Linked DNA regions of Homo sapiens: regions 2, 3, 4, 5 and 6 are each linked to region 1. Evidence: promoter capture Hi-C in human tissues and cell types (Jung and others, 2019). All regions are on one chromosome and are shown on one strand. The core of a region is centred on a gene start or on the middle of the fragment in contact, and the rest is flanking DNA. Distances in the headings are between cores, read along the strand shown. Region 1 holds the start of ZNF563 (zinc finger protein 563). Region 2 has its middle 3.0 kb from the start of ZNF439. Region 3 has its middle 4.4 kb from the start of ZNF69. Region 4 overlaps ZNF700 (zinc finger protein 700). Region 5 holds the start of GNG14 (G protein subunit gamma 14). Region 6 holds the start of ZNF878 (zinc finger protein 878).

Region 1 (4,032 bases), core at 903-3,402:
ATGATCCAATGCTAACAGACTGAGTGGGGAAACCCAACAAGGCCTGTGTGTCTAGATTGTTCTTGGCCTTTCTGAGCATGCATTCCTTCCTTCTCAGTATGAGGCAGGACCCACTCTGAAATGGAGGGTCTTATGACCTACAGCAAGCTTGTCCAACCCATGGCCCAGGAAGGCTTTGGATGCAGCCCAACACAAATTCATGATCTTTCTTAAAACATTAGGAATTTTTGTTTTTGCTATATATTTTTAAGCTCATTAGCTATTGTTAGTGTTAGTGTATTTTATATGTGGCCCAAGACGATTCATCTTCTTCCAATGTGGCCCAGGGAAGCCCCAGGGCCACCCTGACCTGCAGTCAAACAAAGTTGGACAGTTAATTTGCTTATGGCCAGTTTTTACACAGAAAGGACAATGGAAAGTTAGAGTAGTATGTTTTGATTTTATGCCTGGATTTAGGGGAAAAGGGTTCTGGATTCTACGACCCACTTTGGAGAAGAGAGATTCTAGTTTCTAAGGCTAGCCTTGGATAGAAGAGTAGGACTAAGAGTCCCAAGAATGGGACTAAGTTTTTCCTCTGCCCTCTGTGGAGAAAAAACTTTTGCTTCTGAGGCTTCTTCCAAGGTCTTCTTTTTGGGGTATTGTTTTCTGAGCCCCAGCCACCTGGAGTGGGCAGCAGAGTTTGAACCAGTGACTCTACACCGAGCCCATTCTGAAGGCTGCAAAGGGAGAGAAATGGAGCCCCCTTTGGTGCTTCCTCAGCAGCCTGCGCACGCCTCCACGTAGCACGAAGCTGCACATAGAATCAGAATTTACCATTTATGTGTTAGGAAAATCTGGGTAAAGGGTTTATGAATTTGACAGTTTATGTAGGTCAGTACCTTAAAGTAACCTTTTTTTTTTTTTTTTTTTTTTTTTTGAGACCAGGTCTCACTCTGTCACCCAGGCTGGAATGCCGTGGCACGATCTCGGCTCACTGCAACCTCCGCCTCCCAGGTTCAAGTGATTCTCCTGCCTCAGCCTCCCGAGTAGCTGGGATTACAGGTGCCCGCCACCATGCCCAGCTAATTTTTGTATTTTTAGTAGAGATGTGGTTTCACCATGTTGGCCAGGCTGGTCTCCAACTGGTGACCTCAGGTGATTCACCCGCCTCGGCCTCCCAAAGTGCTGGGATTGCAGGCGTGAGCCACCGCCCCGGGCCCTTAAACTAACTTTACATGAAACTTTCCTGTTGGTGAAAATGCACATCTTGACGGTGGGGGCATTTCCACACTCTGCAGAGGGCACAGGGAAGTATGTTGAGCTCCCAGAGTCAAATCCTTCAGTGTCCCAGTCTCATCACCAGGTTTTGGTTCACTCTGGGGTTCCATTTCAACAGTTAAGAGTGGCTGCCAAGTTTGGGCATATGTTTAGCCTCCTGAATGGGACGTTTGCTGAAGTATGAGGGCAGCAGGCTGCTTATCTGCACTAGTTCAAGTTTTTGCTTTTTTTTTCCTGTTGTATTTTTGTTTTGATTCATTCATTCATTTATTGCTGCCGTGTGATTTCAGTTCTTCCACACATTTGATATTTTAATACCGTTCTTGACTTGTTTTTATTTCCTTGGCTGAAAATGAGCAGATTGAGAGGCAAGGTGAGAGAGGAAGGCTTAACCTTGCCGCCAAGAGTCTCATCCTCAAATCCTGATGCCCGGTGGACATCAGGCCACCCTCCTGCTGCAGTGTGGCCTGTGTGGCCTTGGGCTCCCCTCTGCTCTGAGGCCAGGGGAATGGCTCCACTGGACTGTGAGTCTGGGATTCCCTGCAAAACACTTGTGACTCCTTCTCCAGGAGGAAAAGGCAGTAAGGGCCTGCTGAGTACGGGCAGGTAATTCTGCATAAATGCAAATGTTCCCTGGGAGGGATCAGGACAGCACAGGGAGGAAGCCTGCCCTGTCAAGGGCTGTGCCTGGAACTCGTTCATCCCGCTCGACTCAGCACTGTGTGATCGCTTCTTCTGTCACTCAGTGCCCAGGGGGCGGGACCTGGAGCCCTATCCAATCAGAGCTATGGGGCGGGGTCGTGAGAACTGTCAATCAGGCGCACGGCTGGCAGTAGGGTGCCAGGTTCAAAGAGCCCGCGGCGTCTTCACGCCCCTGCGCTCAGCTCTAGACTCAGTCGCTCGCTGAGAGACGCCCTGGAACGTCTGTGTAGCCTCAGTCGCTGAGAGACGCCCTGGAACGTCTGTGGCAGCCTCTGTCACAGTGGGACCCGCACTGGCAGCGGGAGGCAGAGGGAGGACCCTGGAACATCCCGGAAGCCGGGAAATGGTGCGTGTGCAGGGTCAGGCGTCCCAAAAGTGGGAAAGAGCTGGTTGGAACCGTCCAGAACCGGCCGCGGCGAACGTGGGCCTCCCCCGCCGTCAGCTCCGGGGTCTGGGACCCGAGTCCCCCTGGCGCAGCTCGACCCTCGGTCCCCTCAGCCACAGAGTGAGGCTGAGCTGGCAGCCGGGACCCCGGGCGTCCTATCCGGTCCCTGCGCGGCAACTGCGGTCCCGGCCTCGGAGCCCTGTCTGGGCAGCTCCTCGCCCGCAGCCCCCCATCTCCCCAGGATTGGGGGAGGGTCACGGAAGGGTCATGGAGGGAATCCCCACTCGTGTGTGGGGTTCGTGCCTGTGAGGAGCTGTGATCTGTGGGATCCTCAGTCTCTGTTTTCTTCCTAAAGGGGACCGGTGTCCCTCTGAGTCTTCAAAGGTTTGGGAAGGCAGATGTCTAATGCTTATCTTGTCCCCTCACCCTAACTCCTGGGGCTGGCAGTAAATCCCTAGATTTCCAGATTTTGCCCTGCATTTCATAAAGCTGACTTCCTCTCCGTCACAGGGGAACGACTGCTATCTGGGCCGGTAACGCCGGGGTAAAATAATTTTTACTAAGACAGTTGTAGGTAAAGTTATTAGCGAAAGAAGCAAAATCCATCGCAAGGGAGGCCATGGGAAGCCTGCAGGAGAGAAGCAGAGGCTTGTGGGTGATTTTATAGAATGGAACTTGGGCTGATTGATAGTGCCAAGGCAGCAGAGTGCCAAGGCAGCAGGGAGCTTAACTTGCATTCCTCTGTCAGCCCCGGTGTTTGATAAATTGAGGCGTTTGATGGTGAGCAGGAAGTCTGTGAATTAAGTGCGTTATCTGGGCAAGAAGGCCATGTCTTGGGCCATAAAGAAAGTTAGACATGTACAGGAGTTCCAGACCAGCCTGGCCAAGATGGCGAAACCCCTTCTCTACTAAAAATACAAAAATTAGCCAGACGTGGTGTCACATGCCTGTAATCTCAGCTACTCGAGAGGCTGAGGCAGGAGAATCGCTTGAACCCATGAGGCGGAGGTTGCAGTGAACTGAGATCACGTCACTGCACTCCAGTCTGGGCCGGCGACAGAGAGAGACTCCGTCTCAAAAAAAAAAAAAAAAAGAAAAAAGAAAAAAAACAAAGTTAGACCCGTAACTTACCTGCATTCTCTTTTGTTTAAATTCTCTGCACATGAAGATAGGCAGATTTATAGCTTTTTTGTTTTATCTTTCTGCTTTCCCCTGTTCCCTTTAGCCTTTCCCTAATTAAGACTTTAATTTAACAGCCTTTTCCCCTGTTCCCCTTAGCCTTTTCCCTAATTAAGACTCTACACTGTCCTCAGTTCACAGCAACATAATGAACTCTTTGTCCCCCAGGCTGTATTTCAAACAAATACAGTATTTTAACTGTCATTTTTTTCCCCAGGTAGCAATATATGATTCTTTTTTAGAAGATATGATTTTTGTTTGTGAATATTTCATATGTGAGGATGCAGAGAATAACCACCTGTCAGGTGGTTTAACCACTCTGCTGTAAAAACCAACAAGAAAAATGTCTGCGCCTCTTCTCCTTTTATCTTCTCTGGGCACAGGCACCTTATCTGGAAGTGTTTGGGTTGAGGTTCCCCTTTGGAAACCACCAGCTGATGAGTCCTGAGCCCACACTATCTTTTCCTGGTACTGGCTTTGATAACTGCCTGGGACTGGCACCAAGTGGA
Region 2 (4,032 bases), core at 948-3,447, 490 kb after region 1:
CATTGTGTGAATAAGACACCAGCAGAGTCCCTGCTCTCCTCCTATGTTTATGTATAAAGTGGGGAAGGAAAATTCTAAGATAACTTAAGTACATTTAAAAGACTTCCAGATCGCGGTGGAGGTGGCAGCGGAGGGACCCACGGTCACTGACACTGCAGCACCTCCAGGCCTGTCTGGTCAGAGAAAGGGTGGAAAGCTGGAGATGGATGTGGATACGTGGAGGGAGCAGCCCTGGGAACTGGGCTCTGCAGCAGCGCGGCTCTAGGGCCTGGAGCCCGGGAGAGCACAGATGGGGGCTCCTGGGACAGGATGCTCAAAGAAGAGTCAGGTGGCTTCCATGAAATGGGGTGCTATGGCAGCTGGTGAGGGCCTGTGGCTATCATAATTTGGGACGTGAAAACTTGGATTCCGTGGGAATTTATGAAGAGGAAGGCTCTGATGACAAAGAAGTCATCGATGAGGAGGGGGATGAGGGTCACTGGCAAGCTCGCTTCCTTATGGAAAGAAAAGTGAACACCCAACTACTGCTGCAAAATGGGGTGAAAGGATGAGACTCTCACTGTCAGGGAATAAACTGCTGCAGAACTCTTAGAGATTGCAAAGACCTTTCAACAACAGCCTGGGAGGCCGGGTGCCATGGCTTACACCTGCAATCCCAACATTTTAGGAGGCCAAAGTGGGAGGATCACTTGAAGCCCGAAGTTGAAGACCACCCTGAGCAGTGAAGTGAGACACTCCCATCTCCATAATTTTTTTTTTATTAGCCTGGAGAGGTGGTGTGTACCCTTAGTCTCAGCTACTCAGGAGCCTGAGGCAGGAGGATTACTCGAGCCCCAAAGTTTGAGGCTGCTGTGAGCTTTGATCAGGCTACTGTACTTCAGCAAGACACGGTCTCAAAAAAAAAAAAATCCCACCAAATTCCCTGGGGAAACCCTGACCCCCTTGGATGGTCTAATTGTAAAACACAGAGGGTGGTGACGTTTCCTTATGGACTGGATCATTCTAGCCATGTAAGAGGCTTGGACTACTGAGGATTTACCAGGCGGATGACCTCCTTGCTGTCAATGTAAAAGGCCCCTGGTGAAACCATCCCTTTAAACTTTATCAAATTCATCAGGGAGGAAGGGAGGAGGAAAACTTAAACCAAGCTGGCAGCACCTTCAGCATTAATCATTAAGTCAGCTTGTTCTCTGACCTTCCTCATATTTGTTTCATACCTAGTGTCCTAGAATCCCACAGACCCTAAATGATAGTTCCCGTTAACTGCTCTATAGACATCAACTTGAACATTAGATGTTCTCCCTTTGAATTTCCATTCGAAATATTTCCTTTTCAGGGCTGGGTGCATTGGTTCATGACTGTAATCTCAGCACTTTGGGAGGCTGAGGTTGGGGAATCACTTGAGCCTGGGCGTTCAAGAACAGCCTGGAAAATACAGTGAGACTCCATCTGTACAAAAAAATTTATAAACAATTGGGCATGGTGGCATGTGCCTTTATTCCCTGCTACTTGGGAGGCTGAGGCAGGAGGATCCCTTGATCCCAGGAGTTTCTGCAGTGAGCTATATGATCCCACCACTGCACTCCAGCCTGGGAAACAGAACCACACTATGTCTCTTAAAAAACAAAAAAGAAAAAAGAAATCCAGACATTTGTTGGTCTTTGGATTATTGGAGAGCATTTATCTGACACTTAGCCCAAAGTTTGATACCAATATATAGAATTATTAGAAAGGGGCACTTTGAGACTGGGACACAGCTCTGCAGGAAGCTTTCGACAGGTTAATGTGTTAGTATGCTGCCATACTAACTTCAGCAAGACCTGGTCTCAAAAAAAAAAAAAAATCCCACAAAACTCTCTGGGAAAACCCTGACAACCCTTGGATGGTCCAATTATAAAACACAGCAGGTAGTGATATTTCCCTATGGACTGGATCACAAGCCTCAGGCACACCTTTAGAGGGTAGAGCTGTGAGTTGGGATGATACAGCTGCTGCTGCAGGTACAAATTGGGCCTTATGGCAAACACAGTGTGGTAAATCAGTTCCTTTAGGATTTTGGTTGTAATTATGTCATAGAGATGAAACCAGACACTCTTGAAGTGAACAAGTGCTGGCAGTATATGATGCTCTCAAGTAGGTAGAATCCTTAAAAAAGAACCTTTCTATGACTGTGAGAATGGGATTACCATGCTCGGCTAATTTTTTGTATTTTTAGTAAAGACAGGGTTTCAACATGCTGTCCAGGCTGGTCTTGAACTCCTGAGCTCAAGTGATCCACCCGCCTCAGCCTCCCAAAGTGCTGGGATTACAGGTGTGAGCCACTGTGCCAGGCCTCCCACTAAGTTTCTTTCATTTGGCCTGGCACAGTTTCTCACGCCTTAATCTCAGCACTTTGGGTGAGCGAGGCGGGTAGATCGCTTGAGCCCAAAATCTTGGGCTATGACCACCCTGGGCAACATAGTAAGACCTAGTTTCTATTTACTTTTATTAAAAAAGAGAATATATATATATACACACACATATAAAAGAGGCCGAGCACAGTGGTTCACACCTGTAATCTTAGCGCTTTGGGAGGCCAAGGCAGGTGGATCACCTGAGGTCAAGAGTTCGAGACCAAGCTGGCCAACATGGTGAAACCCCGTCTGTAACTAACAAAACGAAAATTATCCAGGCGTGGTGGTGCACACCTGTAATCCAAGCTACTCGGGAGGCTGACGCAGGAGAATCACTTGAACCCAGGAGGCAGAAGTTGCAGTGACCCGATATCGTGCCATTGCACTCCAGCCTGGGCAACAAGAGCAAAAACTCCATTTCAAAAACAGAGAGAGAGAGAGAGAGAAAGGAAGTTTCTTTAACTCCCTAGTTGTTATGGGCTATCACTACTATCACCAGCAGTTGCCTATGAAGCAAAACCTATTCTCACAATGGGTCCAAGAGGAAAAGTAGAAGACTTGGAGACATTCCAGGTAGATCCAAATGCAGCACTTGTACGACAGTATATGGTTAATGTGAGGACTCTTGGGGTGACTTAGCTCAGGCTGGTATAACAAAATACCATGGACTCATACCATGGACTCAGTTTCTTAAACGGCAAACATTTGTTTCTCACAATTCTGGAGTGCGGGAAGTCCAAAATCTTGCTGCCAGCAATTTTGTTCCCAGTGAAGGCTATCTTCCTGGCTTACAGCTAGATGCCTTCTTGCTTTGTCCTCCCATGCTGGAGAAACAGAGAATTCTCTCTCTTCTTACTAATCCCATTATGAGGGCTCTCCTTTATAAATGTATGTGATCTCCTAAAAGGTCTGTGTCCAAATATGACCCTGTTGGGGTTTAGGGCTTGTAAGTATACATTTTATTTTAGAGACAGGGTCTCCCAGTGTGGCCCAGGCTGGTTTTAAACTCCTGGGCTCAAGGGATCCTCCTGCCTTGGCCTCCCAAAGTACTGGGATTACAGGCATGAACCACCGCACCCGGCCTCTAAGTACACATTTTGAGGAGAGTAAATGCAGGACACGCCAAGGGGTAAACAGAAGTCCATAAAAGAGGCTTTGGAAACAATGTAATCAGACAGTGTTGGAGGCTGAAAGAATGGGGGTCCTGATCAACTCAGTATACCACTGGAGGCTAATGAGCAAACAGCAAACTCTTCTCATGAATGCAGCTTGTTGGCAAACTGACAAACTACGTCTGCCACCCAGAAAGAATGCTGAGGGCAGTTACTCCCCAAGCGCAGTGTTTCTTGTGATTATCTACAGGCACATCTGAAGCCTGTTGTACAAAGAAAGTAATCATGTGAACCTGTGATAAATCAAGCAGCTGACCAACCATTACCTCCTCCTCCCTGCTCTTTCTACCCAATAAAAACAAAGGGCTATAGAAGCTCAGGGCCCTTGCTCACTAGAAGCAAGGAGCCCCCTGATCCCTTCTTTAACATAGATCTTTTGTCTTTATTTCTGCATCTGCCCTTCTTCATTCAGTCCCATAGTAACCATCACAAGACAGGACTTTATCACATAGCAGATGGAGAGCTAG
Region 3 (4,032 bases), core at 951-3,450, 450 kb after region 1:
CAGTAGCTGGGACTACAGGTGCCCGCCACTACGCCCGGATACTTTTTTTGTATTTTTTAGTAGAGACGGGGGTTTCACCATGTTAGCCAGGATGGTCTCGATCTCCTGACCTTGTGATCCGCCCACCTTGGCCTCCCAAAGTGCTGGGATTACAGGCATGAGCCACCGCGCCCAGTCAAGTGATTCTGTTTTCTTAAGCTATTTGGCTAGTAGGCCTTAACTGGTCAGCTGTTTTTTGATAAGATCCTTGGTGTAATTCATAAACTGCTGCTAATTATAATAGATGTAATTTATCGAAGCTACATTTTTATTAATAGTTATTCGGGGAAATATGGGTTTAAATCTTGCAGTTATTTGGTCTCAGGTTTTGAACTTGTTAGGCACTCCCCATGGGACTCTAATGGCCTTTATGTAAACTTGAGAGTCAAAAGACTTATAAGGGGCTTCTCTTATTTTTTGGTGTTGTGGCTTTTCTTTTTTTTTGGTTGATGAAATGCCAGTGTGAAAGGGATCGCCAATTGGACAAGAGCGCAAGTGCCGCTCCAGTTACTTGGCAGAGTATCCAGTAAAGGTCCACTACAATACCACCATACATCTGCTTGAGGATGACTAAGGGCAGACTGATGGGTAAGTTTTTGGAAGGGCTTAAGCTTATTGCATCTTGTTAAGCTTCTAAGGAACGCCAGATTCTCCCCTCGTCGTGAGAGACATGAGGTGAAATTGACGTCAGGAGAAGGAAGCTGAATGGCCTTTGGGGGCTGGCCTGCAGGTTGTTGGACTTCGGGATATAGCAGAGAGAGAGCTTGGCATGATTTGTTGCCCCAGGCTGTGGAATTTTGGAAAAGAGCTACCATACAGCCTATGCCTGGTCGGCTGAAGGGCTATCCTAGTGGAAAGGAAACAGTCTGGGCCTCTAGTCTGCCATGCATACAAGCGTAACAATTGCTTTTGTTCAATGTGCGGACGGAATATTGAATCCATTCCAACCAGGTATTTACATCTTGATATCCTGTTTTAATTGCTAGGGTTTGTCTTAAATCTTTTACTTCTACAATATTTACTTTAGTAGTATCATTAGGTAGAAAACAGGTGGCAGTCTGATTAGAAGAAAGCTTAGAAGGAGAAGAGAAGGAAGGGGGTGAAGAGAATGAAGGATTAATAAAACGCATTTCGAAAGATCTTATGAGGTCTGTGCTGGCCAAGTTGGCTCCTGTTCCATAGAAGTGACTTAAAGTAGGTTTAGGGTCAGTAGAGGTGGAAATTTGTATGGGATTACATTGATTATACTGGCAATTGGGGAGGTGCTTTTTTTAGTGAAATGAATGTATGGTTTTAAGGATATACAGCCACCTGCTGATGAGGTCTAGCCTTGACATTTGGTTGTCCATAGGACATCATTCTAGCTATGACAGACTTGTTTTCTTATATTTGTTAAGGAACAAGAGTCTTGGTAGGGGGGGCCTTTCACCTTAAAGGGGCAGAGATACTTTTCTGAGGCTGAGACTTGTCTTTGACTTTGGAGATCTTTACAGGGTATGACTAGACATAGCATTAAACGTGATAACTTGGGGTGAGTTTGATTGAGTTACATTAATGACAAGGTGGTCAGCATTGGAAGGGGAAAAGAAGAAAGAGTAATAGAATAGATGTAAGAGGTTAAATTTTTCTTAGCTTTAGTTTGAGGGGGTTTTCCCCTGGAATAATGGCCTACGACTTTGGGGGTGGCGGTGCTTTCTTGACTCGGGTGTGATGGGTCTATCCTTTCTCTGCTGTCCAGACTGCAGTTTCAATGGTGGGAAGTACTAGGCCAGCTCCTCAGGCCGGTGTTGACGCACTGGGAACTCCAGGAGCCGCACCTGTACTGGAAAATTGTGAGTTTTGAGGGAAGAGAAAGTGGAAGATAAACCAAGTATGTAGGAATGTTGGCAGTGGATTGCTTTGAGAGGTAGTTTGGATTAATAGGAAGACAGAAGACATTTGAGTTATGGCAACTAAGTTTCTAGACTTGTTTGGCTAAGGATGTACATTTTCATACACATATAAACTTTAACTGTGCTATACATAGCTTGAGGTCTTTAATGGGTCCTCTAATTTAGGTGGGATAGGACTTCTTTCATAAGAGGTTTAAATAACATTTGAATTCCCTTCAGTGCCTACAGGAGAAACGGCAGCTGGTTCGGATTATCTGATTTGCTAGGTTATTTTCTTAACTCTTGAAAGATAGGATTTTTGGTGCCTGGGGACGTGGAAAATAGCTTTTTTTTTTTTTCTGGTAACTGAAGGTTATTTAACACTTGGGTTATTAACTCTTCATGAACAAGGCTTTGACCTTTATTATTGTCTGAAATTTTCTAAATGTATGAGCCACGATAAAGGTGTATTTAGAATCAATATAGATTAGTATAGATGGTTCCTTTGCAGTTACTTTAAAGCTTGACTAAGTGCAAACAGCTTACAAATTTGGGTAAACTATTAAACAATTTTTAAATTTTATTTCTCTAGGAACTTCTCTATTTATTATTGAACATCTGTTGAATCCTTTTTCCTTTAATCATTTTTGAAGGGGGTTTCTCTTAAGTTTGGCCGGACATTTGTATGGTAATCAGTTAAATCTAAACATGTGTGCTTCCTTTTTAGATTTGGATCTTTCGTTAAGAAACTTGTTAGGTTAAGCAAATTACTAGTAACATTAAACTATCATTTTTAACAGAATAGCCTCATATTTATACACATGTAATTCTTTTTTGGTGGTACATTTTAACATAGGTGACTTTAAAGAATCAGAGTTCTTTTCTGGTGGATATTTTCACTTTTAACACTGGCCTGACTATAATAAATGCTAGTGGATATATCCGCTGAAAGATTATCTACTTCTTGCTCAGGAAACTTAGCTGCGGGGATGCCAGGCTGCTTGGAGCCATCGCTGAAGCCCCGTATTACTTAGCCTCAGCAAAGTAAGGCAGATATCCTATAATGTAGTTTGCATGGGGCATAGGCTGGGGCCTGGCTCGCATGTCATGCAGAGCTGCCGTCAATACAGTGCCAGGACCTTGGACCAGCCAGTGGGCAGGAGCATGGGCTTTGCCGCTGCAGGGGTGCACTATGGGCCAGACAACGCTGACAACATGTTGCGGCAGATCCTTCATGTTGCTAGCCTGGCAAAAGCCATCTGGTGAATTAGGAGCTTGGAGTTCTTTAGGGGAGAGGGACTTAGGCTGGGGAAGAACAGACTTACTGGGCGATGCCTGAGGGGAAGGGTTGGGTATTAGGTGGGGAATGGTCTAGGGGATCTTGCGAGTTGTTCTTTTTGCTAGGATCCCCCAAGCCCCTTCCTTCACTGTCTTTTTCATTAAAGATGGTTCTATCTTAATAGGGCACATGTACAACTCATTTTCCTCCAAATATTAGTTTTTGACTTGCTCCTTTCAATCCTTGGAGGAGGGGAAAGGACAACTCCTTGCAACTAACATAGGGCATAATTTGTTTCTTCTCAGGAGGCAGGTCTTCTACTAGCAACATTTTCTATTAGAAGTTCACAAATCCATCCCTCATTCGACTTAAATTCTGGCCAGAAAACTAAGGGTTCAAGGATTCGTTCTTGAGTCTAAATGGAACAGCAATATTTTATCACTAATTGCTTTTTCTTATGTTTAGTCTTTTCATTATCTTTCTAATGTTTTAACATGAGACCTAGGGGACTATTAGGGGGGATATCTTTGTTGCTAACTTTGTCTTTTTTGCTTGTAATATTTCCTATACTGGGTCCTGGCTAGGCTCAATCCCTCGTGATAGGAATCTCTTGCCTAGGGGGGCTTGCTGTGGCTCAACCCCTCATATTAAGGATCTCTTGCCTATTTTGGGGGTTCCTTGTGGCTCAGCCTCTCAAATTAAGGATCTCTTGCCTATTTGGGGGGTTCCTTGTGGCTCAACCCCTCATATTAGGAGGTCTTTTGCCTATCCCTCACTGGAAGTGTGGCTAAGGCTCAATTCCACTATCCTTTAGCTCCACCTGCTGGAGGTTCCTTGCACCCT
Region 4 (4,032 bases), core at 934-3,433, 380 kb after region 1:
ATACGTAAAAATGAGCATTTTCATACCTCATAAATCAAGGTATTTTCCATATATAACCAGAAAATGCTGTTCATATTTAATAATTCCTTAACATCAACACAGAGTAATATTAAAACCTTATTAATTGTGTAAAGTGGAATTCTGAAAGCTTACCTTTGAATACATTTCATTTTCTCTGTTACACATTGAAGAAAGTGTGATGTTATGGTATGTATTTGTTTTCATCCAGGGTAATGTTGGGTGTGTTAGGCCTCTGGGGAAGGCCCCTGACCTGCTGCCCTCTTTCCACTCAATGTTTCCCCACCTTTTTTATTGTGGGTCTTAAAACCCTCCCATGAGAGGGTCCCACTGACTTTGTGAAGAGTTTTAGTCTTGGAAATACTCATGATATTCCCTATCTGTAGCTGTTTGTCTCAAGTTAGTTCAGAATAAACCACGAGTGTGTGGATTGCTAAAATAACTTATTTCTAAATGCTGCAAGTCAAAAATTGCAGATTTCCTTGTCTAACCAGATGCAGAAAAGCATATGTTATAAAGGATCAGGACTCCAACAGGAACCAACATCACTGCCTTCTAAAATTAGTGGCCTTCCTGGCATATGAACACCCTTTGGGCCTGTGCTCCAGTGTCTCTTTGGGTTGCTCCTTGGGCTCTTTGTGAAGGATCAAGACACCCCCGTAGTCTAGGCCAATGTCAGGCTCTCCAGTGTGTCCTGTTCATCACCCTCACCCTGCACTTCTATTGTTACTGTCTTTGGCTATTCCAACACTGTGCTTGCATCCTGTGGAAAGTCACATTTGGGGTCAAGTGGATGGTGGTGTTTCTACTCTTTGGTGAAAAGTATCAGGGTGCATTTGGCCTTCAAGGCAGAAGGATGAGACAGGGGTTAGATCCAGGTGCACCCAACTCTTTTTTAATTTTTTTTGTGTGTGTGTGATGGAGTCTCGCTCTGTTGATCAGGCTAGAGAGTGCAGTGGCGTGATCTCAGTTCAGTGTAACATCTGCCTCCCAGGCTCAAGTGATTCTCCTGTCTCAGCCTCCTGAGTAGCTGCGATTACAGGCACACACCACGATGCCCAGCTAATTTTTGTATTTTTAGTAGAGATGGGGTTTCACCATGTTGGCCAGGCTGGTCTTCAACTCCTGACCTCAAGTGATCCACCTGCCTCAGCCTCCCAAAGTGCTGGGATTACAGGTGTGAGCCACTGCACCTGGTCAGGTGCCCCCATCTCTGCCACTGCCCTGTCTTCCCTGCTGTGAGTCACTTTGTGTGATCTGACAATCAATGACTCCACCCTTCACTGATGAGGATGCATTATCTGAGACTGGGTATGTCATCTCCACACACAGATAGGGTTTGGTCAATGATTGATGCTGCATCCTTTGGTGCCTGGATTTTGACAGTGTTTTTTAAATAAGGGTTTCTGAAGAGCAGCTTCATTGGTACCTTAAGGGAAGTGACTGAATTGTTCTATGCCATTGCATAATATATAAAAGTTACTTTTCCACGTTGCTGTTAACTTTACACTGCTGAGATAAGCAGGCTGTTGACAAGTTAGCATCAACAGCACATTATCAGAGAAAGAAAGGCTTGTATTCAGACAATTTACACAACTGTATTAGCTTCCTATGACTTAGTAAAACAATTTGAAAAAATATAGCTTTATAAGGCATAAATGAATTTGTATGTTTTAACTAAGGTACTTTCTAGTAAACAGTGCCCATACATTTTAGGAAATATTTTAGTCTTTAGAGAATAAGTAAGGCAAAACCCGGTCCAAGAGTCTAGAGCTGACCTCCCCTCATCACAAGGCCAAGTCTTTTTTTTTGAGATGGAGTTTCACTCTTGTTGCCCATGCAGGAGTGCAATGGCGCCATCTTGGCTCACTGCAACCTCTGCCCTCCCCCGAGATTCAAGCGATTCTCCTGTCTCAGCCTCCTGACTAGCTAGGATTACAGGAGCATGCAACCACACCTGGCTAATTTTTGTAATTTTAGTAGAGATGGGGTTTCATCATATTGGTCAGGCTGGTCTCAAAGTATTGACCTCAGGTGATCCGCCTGCCTCAGCCTCCCAATGTGCTGTGATTACAGGCGTGAGCCACAGTGTCTGGCCAAGGCCAAGGCTTTTACCATTGGAGAGACACAAGTCACATACCGGGCATATGAGACGATGCTCCTCAGTGACCATGATGGATCAGGACAAAAAAAGAGAATATTTTATAACTATATTTCTAAATGTGATAAAAGAAAACATATTTCAAATCATAAACATGACCAAAATTTTTCTCTTCTTACTAATGTGACTTGTAATTCTCATACATCCCACAGTCATTTATGACTTGTGGTCATATTTACCACTACAGTATATTACACCCTTGCTGACAGCAGGTATGGCACTGGTGGTTTTGGGGAAGAAGGCACTCAGAGGTATATGAGATAACTTTTGGCATAATGAGTGAATGAAAAATTAGGGTTGAGGCCGGGCCCAGTGGCTCATGTCTGTAATCCCAGTACTTTAGGAAGCCGAGGTGGGCAGATCACGAGGTCCGGAGTTTGAGACCAGTCTGGCTAATATGGTGAAATCCCATCTCTACTAAAAAAATACGAATACTAGCTGGGTGAGGTGGGGCACGCCTGTAGTCCCAGCTACTCAGGAGGCTGAAGCAGGAGAATCACTTGAACCTAGGAGGCGGAGGTGGCAGTGAGCTGAGACTGCGCCACTGCACTCTATCCTGGGCGACAGAATGAGACTATCAGAAAAAAAAAAAACAAAAACCAGCAAAATTAGGGTTGAGATAAAAAATAAGTACATAAGCATGAAAAGTAAAATTTCTTTCTTTTTTTTTTTTTTTTTTGGAGATGGAGTCTTGCTCTGTTGCCAGGCTGGAGTGCAGTGGTGTGATCTCTGCTCACTGCAACCTCCGCCTCCCAGGTTCAAGCGATTCTCCTGCCTCAGCCTCCCGAGAAGCTGGGACTACCGGTGCGCGCCACCATGCCCAGCTAATTTTTGTATTTTTAGTAGAGACAGGGTTTCACCACGTTGGTCAGAATGGTCTTGATCTCTTCACCTCGTGATCCGCCTGCCTTGGCCTCCCAAAGTGCTGGGATTACAGGCGTGAGCCACTGTGCCCGGTGCAAAAAGTAAACTTTCCATGAGGAAAAAGATGCCTGGCATTTTATCCACATGGTAATACTGACTCACAATGTCCAAATAATAACAATGTAACATTATAAGCTTGATCTAATACATAAAACCAATGGGATATTTTATTATACCTTCTTATTTAAAAAGAATAACATGTTAGTATACTTATGATAATTGTTTACATTAATTATCTGTATTCAAAGAATCTTGGCAGATCTGAAGGCTTTCCCATACTGCTTACATTCATAGAGTTTCTCCCAAGTGTGAACCCTTCCATGCCGTTGAAGGTGCGAGGCACATCTGAAGGCTTTCCCACATTGCTTACATTCATAGGGTTTCACTCCAGTGTAAGTCCTTTCATGATATCAAACGGAACTAGAATACACTCATAGGGTTTCTCTCCCGTGTGAGTCCTTTCATGACATTGAAAAGAAGTAAAAGGAATGAAGGCTTTCCCACACTGCTTACATTGATAGGGTTTCTCCCCAGTGTGAGTCCTTTCATGATATCGAAAAGAACTGGAAAATGTGAAAGTTTTGCCACATTGCTTGCATTCATAGTGCTTCCTTCCAGTGTGAGTCTATTCATGTCCATAAAAGGAACCAGGCTAGCTGAATGCTTTCCCACAATCCTTACATTCATATGGCTTCTCTCCCATATGAGTCCTTGCGTGTATATGCAAGGAAGAAAAATAATTGAATGCTTTTCCGCATTCCTTACATTCATAGTGTTTCTCTCCAATGTGTGTTCTTGCATGTATTTGAAGAATCTTGGCAGATGTGAATCCATTCCCACAATGCTTACATTCATAGGGCTTCTCTCCTCTGTGCTTCCTTTCATGTATTTGAAAAGAAGAGAATTTACAGAATGCTTTTTCGCATTCC
Region 5 (4,032 bases), core at 775-3,274, 350 kb before region 1:
GCCTCCATCTGGAGCTGCTCCACTGCCCAGAGGGCCTGCCCAATGTCACTGTTGATGGCCACCTTGCTGGACATCTGGGTAAAGTGGGCAGGCCGTGGGCAGCAGGCCCAACCTCAGTCCCCTAGGGGGAGCCTAGGGCTGCCCGAGGGTTCCCACACCTCCTTCTATGTTCCTTGGGGGCTGCAGGATGAGGGTGGCTGCTCCTGGACCCATCAGGCCCACACACCTCGGCTAAGGGCTCCGGCCCAAGTCACCTCTGGCTGCCTGGTCCTCTGGTGGCCACCCTGCTGTGGCTCCCTCCCCAACCCAGCCTGTCCTCTTCAACCCCCTTTTCTCCCTCGGCTACCCCTGCAAAGACTTTGAAGCCAGGGCTCTCATGGAGTGAAATGTCACCAGCTGCAGCAGCAGCTGCTGCCTCGGCTGAGGGGGTCCCTGCCCCAGGAGGCCCTGTGGCTCCTCTGGTGTCATGTGTCACCTGGGTCCCTGTGGGCTAGGTGCCTTGGCTGGGGGAGTGAGGAGGCCCTGGCCTCCCCCTGGCCTGCTGGATCTCCTGCTAACTGTTCCCAACACATCTGCTTTGTCAGCCTCTGCCATCTCCAACATGCAGCCTTGCCTCTCCTCCTGTTGTCGCCACTGCTCAGGCTCAAATCTCCAATGCCTTCGTTCTTTTTTTTTTTTTTTTTTTTTTTTTTGAGAGAGAGTCTTGCTCTATCACCCATGTTGGAGTGCAGTGGTGCGATCTCAGCTCACTTTCAACCTCCACCTCCCGGGCTCAAGTGATTCTCCTGCCTCAGCCTCCTGAGTAGCTGGGATTACAGGCGTATGCTACCACACCCGGCTAATTTTTTTTTTTTTTTTTTTTTTGAGATGGTATTTCGCTCTTGTTGCCCAGGCTAGAGTGCAATAGCGTGATTTCGGCTCACTGCAACCTCCGCCTTCTGGGTTCAAGCGATTCTTCTGCCTCAGCCTCTCGAGTAGCTGGGATTACAGGCATGTGCCACCATGCTCGGCTAATTTTTTGTATTTTTAGTAGAGATGAGGTTTCACCATGTTGGTCAGGCTGGTCTTGAACTCCTGATCTCAGGTGATCCACTTGCCTCAGCCTCCCAAAGTGCTGGGATTACAGGCATGAGCCACTGCGCCCGGCCACACCTGGCTAATTTTTGTATTTTTAGTAGAGAAGGGGTTTCACCATGTTGGCCAGGCTGGTCTCGAACTCCTGACCTCAAGTGATCCACCTGCTTCGGCCTCCCAAAGTGCTGGGATTACAGGTGTGAGCCATCGTGCCTGGCCTTCTTTTCTTTTTTTAAGCCCAGGTTCTCGCTCTGTCGTCCAGGCTGGAGTGCAGTGGTACAATCATAGCTCACTGTAACTTCAAACTCCTGGGCTCAAGTGATCCTCTCAACTCAGCCTCCTGATTAGCTAGAATTATAGGCGTGAGCCACCGTGCCCTGCTAATTTATGTTTTTAACTTTTTGTAGAGATGGTTCTTACTATGTTGCCCAGGCTGGTCTTGAACTCCTGGCCTCAAACGATCCTCTTGCCTTGGCCTTCCAAAGGAATTATAGGCATAAGCCACTGAGCCCTGCCCCGAGATTCTAATATGTGCCCAGCACTGTGCAAAAACCCAAATTAGCAATGAAACAAGACAAAACCTTGCCCTCATGGAGCTGCCTTTCTAGTTAGGCAGGGATGGACAACAGAAAATGTACTCAGTGAAAGAGTATACATGTGAAAGGGCATATGAAAGAAGAATAAAATCAAAGTAAAGGGGAGAGGAGTGGTCAGGGCAGGCCTCTCAGAGGAGGTGACATTTGAACTTAGGCCCAAAGGAGGAGAAGGAACTGAGAAATGGGGTGTTCTAGGCAGAAGGAGCGGCAAGTACCTGACTCCTTGGACAAAAAAGAGCTTGGTGGGTTCCAGGAATAGCAAAGAGGTCTGTGTAGCTGGAGAGGAGAGAGGGAGGGAGGGCCAGCATGGTGGGAGATGGCAGCAGGGAGGTTGAGAGGTGCCCTTTAAGGCCACTGTGAAAAGCTTGGATTTTACTCCCAGGGGGAAGCTACCATTAGGAGGTTTTAACAGTGACATGTTTGATTTATGGTTAAAGAGCTGTGGCATGCACCTGTAGTCCCAGCTACTGGGGAGGCTGAAGTGGGAGGATCACTTGAGGCCAGGAGGTCGAAGCTGCAGTGAGGTGTGATTGTCCCACTGCACTCCAGCCCTGGTGACAGAGTGAGACCCTGCATCAAAAAAAAAAGCTCAGCGGCTGGGCACGGTGGCTCATGCCTGTAATCCCAGCACTTTGGGAGGCTGAGGTGGGCGGATCACGAGGTCAGGAGATCAAGACCATCCTGGCTAACATGGTGAAACCCCGTCTCTACTAAAAATACAAAAAATTAGCTGGGCGTGTGGCGGGCGCCTGTAGTCCCAGCTACTTGGGAGGCTGAGGCAGGAGACTGGCGTGAACCCGGGAGGTGGAGCTTGTAGTGAGCCGAAATCACACCACTACACTCCAGCCTGGGCGACAGAGCAAGACTCCGTCTCAAAAAAAAAAAAAAAAAAAAAAAAGCTCTCTGATTTTAGCTGTTAGGTGGGAGATGGGTTGGAGGATACCAAAGCCAGCTTGCAGGCTATGGGGATAAAGAAAACACCTGGATTTCGGACCTACTTTATAGGTAGAGGTTGGCAGACATGCTGAGAAGGATGGATGTGGGGTGTGAGAAAAGGGGAGACAGCAAGCTGCGCTCCTCATTTTTAATTTTTATTTATCTATTTTTGAGACGGAGTTTCGCTCTGTTGCCCAGGCTGGAGTGCAGTGGCACCATCTCAGCTCACTGCAACCTCCACCTCCCGGGTTCAAGTGATTCTCCTGCCTCAGCCTCCTGAGTAGCTGGGATTATGGGTGTGCGCCACCACACCCGGCTAATTTTTGTATTTTTTAGTAGAGACGGGGTTTCGCCATGTTGTCCAGGCTGGTCTCTAACTCCTAACCTCAGGTGATCTGCCCTCCTTGGCATCCCAAAGTGCTGGGATTACAGGTGTGAGCCACCGCGCCCAGCCCCAATCCCTATTTTTCAGTCTAGTGGATGAGTGGAGGGTGGGGCCGTTTGCTGAGATGCAGAAAGATCAGGGATAGGTGGAGAGGGAGCTGAGGGGGCAACTTTGAGGTCCAAGCGAGGATGTCAAGGAGGATGTCTGTCTCCTCCAACAAGGTAGGCTCATTCCAGCCTCACGGCTTTTGCTGTTCTGTCTTCCCATGTGCAGGAAATGGCCTCTCTGCATCTTCACATACGGGGATTTTCTCAGCCTTCTGGCTTTGGCTCAAATCTCACCTCCTTGGCGTCCTTCACCCATCCCTCCAACTAAAATCCCGAACTCCTCCACCTAAAGACTCAAATTATCCTGTTTAAATCCTGATTGCGCTGGGCGCGGTGGCTCACACCTGTAATCCCAGCACTTTGGGAGGCCGAGGCAGGCAGATCACCTGAGGTCAGGAGTTCGAGACTAGCCTGACCAACATAGTGAAACCCCATCTCTACTAAAAATACAAGAATTAGCCGGGCGTGATGGCTCATGCCTGTAATCCCAGCTACTCGGGAGGCTGAGGCAGGAGAATTGCTTGAAACTGGGAGGCAGAGGTTGCGATGAGTGGAGATCGCGCCATTGCACTCCAGCCTGGGCAACAAGAGCGAAACTCTGTCTCCAAAAAAAACAAAAAACAAAAAAGGCCTGATAGCACTCACCACTATTGTTAACTTTCTATCTTCCCAATCAGATTGTGGGCTCCAGTAGGGCAGGGTCCACATCTTGGTCTTGTTCACCACTAAATCCTTAGTGCCTAGCACGGAGCCCACCATAGAGAATAGACTACATGAATTGTAGAGTGAGTGAATAATCCTGTTGGCCGTATGCACTGTTAGGAGGGTGTGTTTGAGATACAGATGACACCCAGGGTCTCACATTCTTGCAGGAGGGAAAGAGACGTCAGCCCTGGGTCCCAGAAGAGGCCACTGACCCAGTGGGAGTTCAGGG
Region 6 (4,032 bases), core at 495-2,994, 280 kb after region 1:
CCCCCAGAGAATAGACTTTTTTCCTTTTTATGAGACAAGGTCTCACTCTGTCACCTAGGCTCGAGTGTAATGGTGCAATCTCTGCTCACTACAACCTCCGTCTTCTGGGTTCAAGCAATTGTCCTGCTTCAGCCCCCCGAATAGCTGGGATCACAGGTGTGTGCCACCAAACCCAGCTCATTTTTATATTTTTGGTAGAGATGGGATTTCGTCAAGTTGGCCAGGCTGGTCTCAAACTCCTGACCTCAAGTGATCCACCCACCTCGGCCTCCCAAAGTGCTGGGATTACAGGCATGAGCCACCATGCCTGGCCCTAATCTATTTACTTATCTTTTTGGTAGAGACCTGGTCTCACTGCGCCCGGCCACTGGTTTTTTGTTTTGTTTTGTTTTGTTTTTTTGAGACACAGTCTTGCTCTGTGGCCCAGGCTGGAGTACAGTGGTGCGATCTCTGCTCACTACAAGCTCCACCTCCCGTGTTCTCGCCATTCTCCTGCCTCAGCCTCCCGAGTAGCTGGGACTACAGGCGCCCACCACCACGCCCGGCTAATTTTTTTTTTGTATTTTTAGTAGAGACGGGGTTTCACCGTATTAGCCAGGATGGTCTCGATCTCCTGACCTCGTGATCCGCCCACCTCGGTCTCCCAAAGTGCTGGGATTACAGGCGTGAGCCACTGCGCCCGGCCAGCGCCCGGCCATTTAAAAAAATTTTAAATAATAAAGACAGGGATCGGCGGGCGAGGTGGCTCACGCCTGTAATCCCAGCACTTTAGGAGGCCGAGGCGGGCGGATCACCTGAGGTCGTGAGTTCGAGACCAGCCTGACCAACATGGAGAAACCCCGTCTCTACTAAAAATACAAAATTAGCGGGGCGTGGTGGCGCATGTCTGTAATCCCAGCTATTTGGGAGGCTGGGGCAGGAGAATCGCTTGAACCTGGGAGGCGGAGGTTGCAGTGAGCCAAGATCTCGTGCCACTGTGCTCCAGCCTGGGCGACAGATCGAGACTGTCTAAAAAAAAAAAAAAAAAAGAAAGAAAGACAGGGATCTCGCTGTGTTGATGATGTTGGCCTCAAACTCCTTGCTTCAAGGGATCCTTCCGCCTCAGTTTGCCAATGTGGTGGGATTATAGACATGAGTCACCATGTGCTACCTCTCTTCAGATTTTAAAGGTGTCAAACTCTCAATAGCTTTTAGATCAGGGAAAGGAAAAGAACGGGGGAGCTGGCAGTGCTTCATTAACGGAGATTCTCTACAAATGTAAATTTCCCCCTCAAAAGACAGTTTTGCAAGGCCACCTTTTGTTTGCTGGCCAAGCAGCAGCCATTTCAAAACTGTCAAAGAAATATATTTTGGCAGGGCAATATCTTGGGGCAAAATATTTTAATGTCTTTCACATTTTGTGGACACTGAATCTGGAATTCCCTGCACACTTGTGTCCCGTGTAGGATGAAGGGGCAGGGACGGCCCACGGAGTGAGGAAGACAACAGTGTCCCTTCTAGCAGTTCGGAGCAAGTTTGGCCGAAGGCAAATATTCGAAGTAAAGGTGGGAGGGAGGGAGGGAGCTGACCTTGGAAAGTGTGGCCAGAACCAGTCGCTTCGGCTCTGCAGCGCCCAGTTACCCGGGGCTTCTGCTGTCACTCAGGGAAGGGGGCGGAGTCTAGACCCCTATCCAATCAGGGGCGCTAGGGCGGGGCCCTGCCACTGTCCTCCAGGGAAGGGGAGGTTGCATTCCCGCTCTCTTCACTCCTAGGGCTGCTCGCGCTAGTTAAGGTCTGGGGCTTTCTTGCTCCGAGAGGGACCAGTTACTTCCGCCGTAGCTGCTGTTGCTCTGTCGACTGCGCTGTGACCTGCACTGTTCACGGGACCTTTAGAGAGGACGCCAGAATACCTGGAAGCCAGGAAATGGTGAGCATGCGGTGCTGGGGAGTCCCAAGGCGAAAGGAGGGACTGGGTGGAACCGAGAGGAACCCGCTGTGGCGGGGCCCGGGCCCCCCTGCAGCGACTCTGGGCTCCAGACACAGTCCCCCTAGCGCAGCTCGGCCCTCGGTCCCCTCGGCCGCTGGGTGGAGCTGGGCCGGCAGCCGGGACCCCGGGCGTCCTGTCCGGTCCCTGCGCGGCGACTGCGGCCCCGGCCCCGGCTCCCTCTCTGAGCAGCTCCGCGCCCGCAGCCCCGCGTCTCCCCAGATTGTGCGGTGACCATGGAAGGGTCATGGGGGATCCTGCCTCGGGTGTGGGGTTCGTGTGGGAGGAGCTGTGGGCTGTGGGGTCCCCAGTTCCTTTTTTTTTCCAGTTAAAAATTAAACTGAGGCACTGTTAAAAAATGAGAGTTTATTTTAGCAAACAGCGATTAATGAATGAGAAACTCCCAGTCCTGGCTTGTGGTTTGGTAACGGAAAAACCCAAATCGTGTAGAATAAGTTTATTCTGAGCCGAATAGGAGAGACCTCGGCTGAGGGAAACACAACCCCGCGAAGTCTGGAGTAAGCAATCCCGAGGCAGCTCCTGACAGTTTGGTTTTATTCATTTCAGGGAGACAGGAATTGCAGGAAAATGATGAATCAGTGCCGGGAAGGTGTAAGTTCCTTTGGCCGAAAGGCGGGACACATGGAAGCGGGGTTAGAAGGCACAGGTGGTGGAGGGATTCTGTAGGTGGCAGTTGGTTGAGAGTGTGTAAAGCTTTGTCTAAAATTTGGAGGCTGTAGGAAGGAGGGCTGTTATCTGCCACGTTATTCCATCCCAGTCCCCGCCCCCTTCCCCAAAAGACCTGTTTTTATTTTACCAGATTTTTATATTTTTGAGACGGAGTCTCGCTCCGTCGCCCCAGGCTGAAGTGCTGTGGCGCCATCTCGGCTCACTGCAACCTCCGCCTCCCGGGTTCAAGCGATTCTCTTGCCTCAGCCTCCCGAGTAGCTGGGACTACAGGCGCCAGCCACCACGCCCGGCTAATTTTTGTATTTTTAGTAGAAACGGGTTTCACCATATTGGCCAGGCTGGTCTTGAACTCCTCCTGACTTTGTGATCCGCCCACTTCGGCCTCCCAAGGTACTGGGATTACAGGCGTGAGCCACTGCGCCCGGCCAATTTTTGTATTTTTAGTAGAGACGGGGTTTCATGATATTGGCCAGGCTGGTCTCGAACTCCTGACCTCGTGATCCACCCTCCTCGGCCTCCCAAAGTGCTGGGATTACAGTGGAATGCCCCACTGCACTCCAGCCATGGTGAAAGAATGAGACTGTCTCAAAAAAAAAAAGTTAAGCTCCTTCTTATATAGGCAAAAAACAAAGAAATTTAATTATCGCAACAATTAGTACAACTAAATTAATTGTACAATTAATTTAATACAACTAATTAGTACAACTAAATTAATTATACAATTTAGTTACAGGTTTTTTTGTTTGTTTGTTTGAGACGGAGTTTCGCTCTTGTTGCCGAGACTGGAGTGCAATGGCGCAATCTCGGCTCACTGCAACCTCCGCCTCCCCGGTTCAAGCGATTCTCCTGTATCAGATTACAGGCGTGAGCCACCGCGCCCGGCCCAGGACTTTAAAATTTTCTTTGCAAGGGGTTTTAATTTCTTTTCTTTTCTTTTTTTTTTTTTTTTTTTTTTTGAGACGGAGTCTCACTCTGTCACCCAGGCTGGAGTGCAGTGGCGCGATCTCTGCTCACTGCAAGCTCCGCCTCCCGGGTTCACGCCATTGTCCTGCCTCAGCCTCCCAAGTAGCTGGGACTACAGGCGCCCGCCACCGCGCCCGGCTAATTTTTTTGTATTTTTTAGTAGAGACGGGGTTTCACCGTGTTAGCCAGGATGGTCTCGATCTCCTGACCTCGTGATCCACCCACCTCGGCCTTCCAAAGTGCTGGGATTACAGGCGTGAGCCACCGCGCGCGGCCGGTTTTCATTTCTTTTCTTATTTAAAAAAGTGAATTTAACATTTCCAGCTTCAGAAGATGTGATGGCCATGAAGTCTTTGTGTAAGAAAAGTAAGAGGGAAGTTAGTCTATAATGAAATCAATCCTTAAGAGGGAAGGGG

What was found. Contacts are between HindIII fragments. The study calls those that stand out against the background at their distance.
Region 2: a fragment that was not itself captured here is called in contact with the fragment with the promoter of ZNF563 in region 1 in 2 of the 25 tissues and cell types used here (aorta and dorsolateral prefrontal cortex).
Region 3: a contact is called between a fragment that was not itself captured here and the fragment with the promoter of ZNF563 in region 1, in 4 of the 25 tissues and cell types used here (bladder, dorsolateral prefrontal cortex, mesenchymal stem cells and 1 more).
Region 4: a fragment that was not itself captured here is called in contact with the fragment with the promoter of ZNF563 in region 1 in 1 of the 25 tissues and cell types used here (mesenchymal stem cells).
Region 5: a contact is called between a fragment that was not itself captured here and the fragment with the promoter of ZNF563 in region 1, in 1 of the 25 tissues and cell types used here (spleen).
Region 6: a contact is called between the fragment with the promoter of ZNF878 here and the fragment with the promoter of ZNF563 in region 1, in 1 of the 25 tissues and cell types used here (small bowel).

The regions. Positions count from the first base shown.
Region 1 is chr19:12,331,753-12,335,784 of GRCh38, reverse strand. ZNF563 (zinc finger protein 563) reads left to right here and starts at 2,152. Exons shown (of 4, transcript NM_145276.3): 1 at 2,152-2,305. The coding sequence starts at 2,303. RefSeq lists a silencer at 1,919-2,058 and enhancers at 1,231-2,096, 2,199-2,458, 2,689-2,798, 3,976-4,032. The HindIII fragment of the contact is 22,494 bases long and covers 1-4,032 here.
Region 2 is chr19:11,843,687-11,847,718 of GRCh38, reverse strand. No RefSeq gene overlaps it. Among named protein-coding and RNA genes, the nearest start is that of ZNF439, 3.0 kb to the left of the region's middle. The HindIII fragment of the contact is 5,747 bases long and covers 1-4,032 here.
Region 3 is chr19:11,881,375-11,885,406 of GRCh38, reverse strand. No RefSeq gene overlaps it. Among named protein-coding and RNA genes, the nearest start is that of ZNF69, 4.4 kb to the left of the region's middle. RefSeq lists an enhancer at 3,907-4,032. The HindIII fragment of the contact is 6,745 bases long and covers 1-4,032 here.
Region 4 is chr19:11,949,977-11,954,008 of GRCh38, reverse strand. It overlaps ZNF700 (zinc finger protein 700), which reads right to left. Exons shown (of 4, transcript NM_144566.3): 4 at 3,246-4,032. The coding sequence ends at 3,756. It also overlaps a transcript of ZNF69 not described here and the pseudogene VN2R21P. Among named protein-coding and RNA genes, the nearest start is that of ZNF763, 13 kb to the left of the region's middle. The HindIII fragment of the contact is 4,503 bases long and covers 1-4,032 here.
Region 5 is chr19:12,684,091-12,688,122 of GRCh38, reverse strand. It overlaps GNG14 (G protein subunit gamma 14), which reads right to left and starts at 125. Exons shown (of 1, transcript NM_001316692.2): 1 at 1-125. The coding sequence starts at 74. The HindIII fragment of the contact is 4,816 bases long and covers 1-4,032 here.
Region 6 is chr19:12,050,673-12,054,704 of GRCh38, reverse strand. It overlaps ZNF878 (zinc finger protein 878), which reads left to right and starts at 1,744. Exons shown (of 4, transcript NM_001080404.3): 1 at 1,744-1,906. The coding sequence starts at 1,904. RefSeq lists an enhancer at 1,405-1,910 and a silencer at 2,099-2,148. The HindIII fragment of the contact is 7,236 bases long and covers 1-4,032 here.